2 separate regions of the Homo sapiens genome follow, and region 2 is linked to region 1. The links are contacts of gene promoters, found by promoter capture Hi-C in blood cells and fetal thymus (Javierre and others, 2016). All regions are on one chromosome and are shown on one strand. Each heading gives the region's core, a stretch centred on a gene start or on the middle of the fragment in contact. The rest is flanking DNA. Distances are from core to core; before and after follow the strand shown. Region 1 holds the start of ZNF787 (zinc finger protein 787). Region 2 holds the start of SPACA6 (sperm acrosome associated 6).

What was found. Contacts are between HindIII fragments. The CHiCAGO score rates a contact against its expected background, and 5 or more counts as called.
Region 2: a contact is called between the fragment with the promoter of SPACA6 here and the fragment with the promoter of ZNF787 in region 1, in 2 of 17 cell types (naive CD4 T cells and activated CD4 T cells). The highest score is 7.2, in naive CD4 T cells.

Annotation. Positions count from the first base shown.
Region 1 is chr19:56,119,969-56,122,671 of GRCh38, forward strand. It overlaps ZNF787 (zinc finger protein 787), which reads right to left and starts at 1,327. Exons shown (of 3, transcript NM_001002836.4): 1 at 1,204-1,327. LOC124904772 (a long non-coding RNA gene) reads left to right here and starts at 1,642. Exons shown (of 2, transcript XR_007067348.1): 1 at 1,642-1,964. RefSeq lists enhancers at 372-666, 1,094-1,809 and silencers at 414-463, 544-863, 1,154-1,233, 1,244-1,363, 1,454-1,823. The HindIII fragment of the contact is 11,888 bases long and covers 1-2,703 here.
Region 2 is chr19:51,691,931-51,694,630 of GRCh38, forward strand. It overlaps SPACA6 (sperm acrosome associated 6), which reads left to right and starts at 1,400. Exons shown (of 9, transcript NM_001316972.2): 1 at 1,400-1,810; 2 at 2,548-2,625. The coding sequence starts at 1,597. It overlaps SPACA6-AS1 (SPACA6 antisense RNA 1), which reads right to left and starts at 1,526. Exons shown (of 2, transcript NR_108100.1): 1 at 704-1,526. It overlaps MIR99B (microRNA 99b), which reads left to right and starts at 682; the gene lies at 682-751. It overlaps MIRLET7E (microRNA let-7e), which reads left to right and starts at 856; the gene lies at 856-934. It also overlaps MIR125A. The HindIII fragment of the contact is 8,848 bases long and covers 1-1,747 here.

The DNA.
Region 1 (2,703 bases), core at 77-2,576:
GGACACCGCAAAGAGCAGACCAAGCCATTCCTTCCCTAAAGCCCTGACCATCCCCCGGACTGGGCTGGGTCAAAATGCCTTCCCTGGCTCCCACAGCCCCCAGACCTCTCCATCAGGGGTCTGGTCACCTTGGATGGCGACTCTGTCGCCCGGGTCTCAGTCTCTGCCTTCCACCCAGACTCCAAGCCCTTGTTCATCTCCCTGCTCCCTGTCTCTAGTGCCCGGCACAGGGCCTGGCACTGGAAAAACTTCTGCCTCCACTCACTCCTGCCTTCTGTGTCTGTGGGTCACTTTTCTGTGCGACTCTGCAGGTCCCAGAGCACTCATCCACATGAATTGGGGTCAGCTCCCTGGACTGGGGGTCGGGGTGGGGTGTCAGGAGGGCGGGGCTCCACTCTGATCCACTCGGCACAGGGGAGGGAGGCCTCAGGAGTCGCCACCCGATCCAGTCCCCGCCTTCGCCCTGCCCCGTGGGCCACGCGGTGGCTGACCTTGGCCCAGTCACTTCCCCCGCTGGGGACGCGCTTCCTCCCCGCCTGCCGAGCAAGGACGAATGAATGGGCCTCCTGCCGGCCAGAATCCCCGTAATTACCCGCCTGATCAAAGGCCACGCGCAGCCCGCCCGGGGCAGCAACGGGACCCGGGCTGACTCGAAAAGGGGAAGGAAGGGCTGGGGGGGCCGAGGGCTGAGACCGTGCCCTCGGGGCCGCGGTATCCGGCCAGGCCAGCCCAACCGCGCGGCCCCTTCCCCCACCTGGGCCTCAACTTCCCCCCGAAGTCGCCACCACTTCCGGCCACGACCGGCGGAGTTGGAACTTCGGGGGGACGGACAGCGGCCCCACCCCCGACGGCCCGCAGCAGAGGGACCCCCACCGAGGCCCCCGCTCCTGCCCCCGCCACGCGCACGCGCGCGCCCTGGACCCGGACCCGCGCACGCGCACCCCCCCTCCAGCCCCGCTCGCCGCCCGCGGGCCGCCCGGGCGCGCGTCCCCTCCCACAGCTCTTCGGCGCGCACGCGCACTCCCCCCGCCCGCGTCACCCCGGCCGCGCGCCCACTCACGCCCCCCCAGCAGCGCGCACGCGCGCCCGCCGCCCAGTCGCGCTCGCCCTCCAGTCTCCCCACCCACCCCCAGCCCAAGCCCAGCTTCCCGAAGCGCGCGCCCACCTGGCCCCCAGCGCACGGCCCCCGCCCCCACCCCTCACCTCCTTGGTCCCGGGGCCGCCGCGCCGCACTCCTCCTCCTCTCTCCTGCCTCGCGGATGGTGGCAGCGGCGGCAGCGGCGACTCAGACCCTGGGGTCAGGGGGACGGGCGCCCAGGCCGGAAGTGACCTTCCCGGCCGCTTCCGCCCGCGCCGCTCCCCCCCTTCTCCCTACTCCCTGCCCCCCGGGCCGCCACCCTGTCCTCGCCGCTCTAGGAAGGCGAGCCCGCTATCCCGGCCACCGCCCCCAGCTCTGTGGTGCCCGGCGGGCGCCTGAGGGAGCCACTTCCGGAAGTGTCTAGGACGCAGGTCCTCCGTCCATGCTCTATGGCGCCCCGCGCCGAGGGGCTTCGGCCCCGCCCCCTTCCCGGACAGGAGGTGCGGGCTGGGCCCGTTAGGCGGAGACTTCCGGGTGTCTAGGGCGGTGCCCCCCCGACAACCCGGGCTCCTCGCGCCTGCGCGGCCGGGTCCCCGGGCCCGCCGTGAGGAGAGTGAAGTGGTGGAGAGGGACGCTCGTGCCACCCCGGGTCCTCCTACCGTCTCTATCATGGTAACCCCTTCTCTGCCGCTGCACCTCCCAGTGGCCCGAGTCCAGGTGCCTTAGTTACTGGACAGAGACCCCGGGTTCCTTAGTTACTGGACAGAGAGTGCTGCGCTTCAGGTGCCATGGCCTCAGTTTCCTCCTTTCTGAAGTGATGAAAATACATTGTGCGCCTCCAAGTGCTTCACACGCACTAGGTCCTAGTCCTAACTAGGGCCTCATGGTAGGTCCTATCCCTATGTTGCAGGTGAGGAGTCAAATCACCTACCAAAAGTCACACACCCGGAATGCCAGAGCCTCGGCCCGAACCCATGGAGTTTGGCTCTAAATTCGTGTATTTAACCCTTGACTGTACACACTGCCTCGTGTCATAGCCCTGAGAATCCACTACTTCCCCCGCGTTAGGTAGGCACCTAGTAAGGACGCACTGGGTGTTAGCTGTTACTGTTGGTATTCTTGCAAAAAACACATATTTTAAAATAATTGTCCAAACCATAGTGTCCTTGTAGGCTGGTCCTTCTGGTCCTTCCTCTGTTCTGTACTTGGCTGACTCTCACCTAAGTGGCAGATGACTTATCGCTTATAATTGTTATCATCCTCACTGGTAGTCAGAAAAGATAAGAAGCTATAATTCACTGGTGGAATAACACCTTTCTCAGCCTCAATTTCTCATCTGTGGAATGGGAAAAAATAAGATAACCTGCAAGGTAATATGTGTAAGAGCTGCTTAGTTCAATACCTGGCCCATAGTAAGTTCACAAAAATGATGGTGGTTATTATTACCTATTAGCAGTGTTACATATAAGTCTATTGTTGTGGCCACTGTATACCCTCAAAGCTCAGTGAGCATCAATCATAAGATGTATATTATTGATTTAATAACATCTTTCCATGGGGTGGGGTGAACAGTGCTGTGTTAACTGTGTGTGTCAATAGGAGGATATCTGTGTCCCTCCTTCAGA
Region 2 (2,700 bases), core at 150-2,649, 4.4 Mb before region 1:
AGGCTCAGCCCCCTCACCTGCCAAATGGGGATGCTGAGGGCACCTCGCTCTCTGGAGTGGGAGGTGTCAGGGAGAGGACTGGTGCTCAGGGCCTGGTATGGGGTCAGCGCTGGGAGATTGTGGCTGTCATAGTTGTAAATGACCCAAAGAAGGGAGGAGAGAGGAAAGAAAGCACCTAGGGAGGCTCTGATGGTTGGCTAGCCCCTGGCCTCCTTAGCCCTGGGCCTGGAGTCTCTGCAGACTGACAGGAGGGTAGGTAGGAAGCAGGTGTGCCCAAAGGGCCAAATTACGAGACAAATGAGGTTCCCTCCCAGCCGGCACCCAGGAAGCCAGGTTTTCTATCAGGCCATGCCTTCCCCAGGAGGCCTGCCTGGCCGGAGGGAGGAGGGGCTGGGGGCAGGGACTCCTGGGTCTCTGGGGAGAAGGAGGCTTTGGATCTGGACTCATGAGTCTGAGGGAGGAAGGGGCTGAGTCCTTGGATTCCAGGAACATTTGGGGAGAAAAGGGCCAGAGGCCTGGATTCCTGGGTCTGTGGTGAGGAAGGGCCTAGACTTCTGGGTTCTTTAGGGAGGAGGGGGATGAGAGCCTTGACTCCAGGGTCCCTGATGAGGAAGGGGCTGAGGGCCTGGACTCCTGGGTTCCTTGGGGAGGAGGGGCCGGGGGCCCGGACTCCTGGGTCCTGGCACCCACCCGTAGAACCGACCTTGCGGGGCCTTCGCCGCACACAAGCTCGTGTCTGTGGGTCCGTGTCGGGGGCTCACCATCGCGGCTGGGGCCTCCCCGGCCCTCCCCCTCATCCCTGGTCCTCCTGGTCCCTGTCTGTCTGTCTGTCGGGTCTGTCCACCTGCCGCGCCCCCCGGGCTGAGGTAGGAGGTTGTATAGTTGAGGAGGACACCCAAGGAGATCACTATACGGCCTCCTAGCTTTCCCCAGGCTGCGCCCTGCACGGGACGGGGCCCGGCGGGGACCCCCAGCCCCACTCAGGGACCCTTAGCCCCACTGGGCTGCCCCAGGGACCCTGGGAGGAAGAGCCGGGCTCTTTTCTGTCCTTGTCCCTGCATCCCCTCCTTCCCCTGAAATCTGTTTTCCTTCCCTGTCTGTCTCCATCTCTGCTGTGTCTCTGTGGCTTCTGTGTCTCTTTCACAGTGGATCCTCTGACTCCCTCTTATTCTGGCTTTCTAGGTCTCTGCCCCTCCCGATATCTCTCTGTGTCTCTATTTCTGTCGTTTTTGGTCTTTCTGTCTCTGGCTCTCAGAATGTCTCTGTGCCTATCTCCATCTCTGACCCCCACCCCAGGGTCTACCGGGCCACCGCACACCATGTTGCCAGTCTCTAGGTCCCTGAGACCCTTTAACCTGTGAGGACATCCAGGGTCACAGGTGAGGTTCTTGGGAGCCTGGCGTCTGGCCCAACCACACACCTGGGGAATTGCTGGCCTGACTTCTGACCCCTGACTCCTCATACCCTTCCTCCAGAGCATGACATTTGACCACCAACTGAAACCTGACCTCTGACCCCAGACCACTGGCCCTTCCCCCGCCCTGTGGTGACTTCATAAAGGTTACTAGCTTCTCCCCTGGCCTTGAGACCCACACGATGGCCCTGCTGGCTCTGGCCAGTGCCGTCCCGTCTGCCCTGCTGGCCCTGGCTGTCTTCAGGGTGCCCGCCTGGGCCTGTCTCCTCTGCTTCACAACCTACTCTGAGCGCCTCCGCATCTGCCAGATGTTTGTTGGGATGCGGAGCCCCAAGCTTGAAGAGTGTGAGGAGGCCTTCACGGCCGCCTTCCAGGGCCTCTCTGACACCGAAATCAGTGAGGAGACCATCCACACTTCATCAGTGTCCTGGGGAAGGTGCAGAGGGAGGGCAGGAGAGGCCCAGAGGGTCAGGCTGAGGGACAGACAGAGAGAAACAGTCAGAGGAGAAAGGCTCAAAGACCATGAGAACAACAGAGACTTAGGGACAGAGAGACACAGACAGGGGAAGACAGCAGGGCAAAGACTCAGAGAGGGGAGGATGGAGAGTCAGAGAGGGGAAGATGGAGACTCAGAGAGGGGGAGGATGGAGACTCAGAGAGAGAGGAAGATGGAGACTCGGAAAGATGGAGACTCAGGAGTATGGAGAGTCAGAGAGGGGAGGATGGACACTCGGGAGGATGGAGAGTCAGGAGGATGGAGACTCATAGAAAGGGGAGGATGGAGAGTCAGGAGAGGTTGGAGACTGGAGAGGGAATAGAGACCCAGAGAGGGGAGGATGGAGACTCAGAGGGTGGAAGATGGAGACTCAAAGAGGATGGAAACCCAGAGAGAGGAGGACAGAGATGAGGCAGAGACTAGGGGAAGCAGGATAGCGACTGGTCGGGGGCAGAGACTCAGGGAGGATAGAGACTTGGGAGGGACTCAGGAAGCATAGCGACTGTGGGGCAAAGAGTCAGAGAGGGGAGGATACAGACTTGGGAGGGCAGAGACTCAGAAACAGAATGTTCGCATTAGGGACATGGTGTTGCGGGGAGCTGCCTCCCCCAGCCCCTGCTCCCTCCCTCACCGCCAGACTATGATGAGAGAAGCCACCTGCATGACACCTTCACCCAGATGACCCATGCCCTGCAGGAGCTGGCTGCTGCCCAGGGTGAGTGTGTGGGGATGGGGAGATGGGAGATGTGGACTTGGAGCCCCTAAGAAATGGGTATGTGGGAGGGCCCAG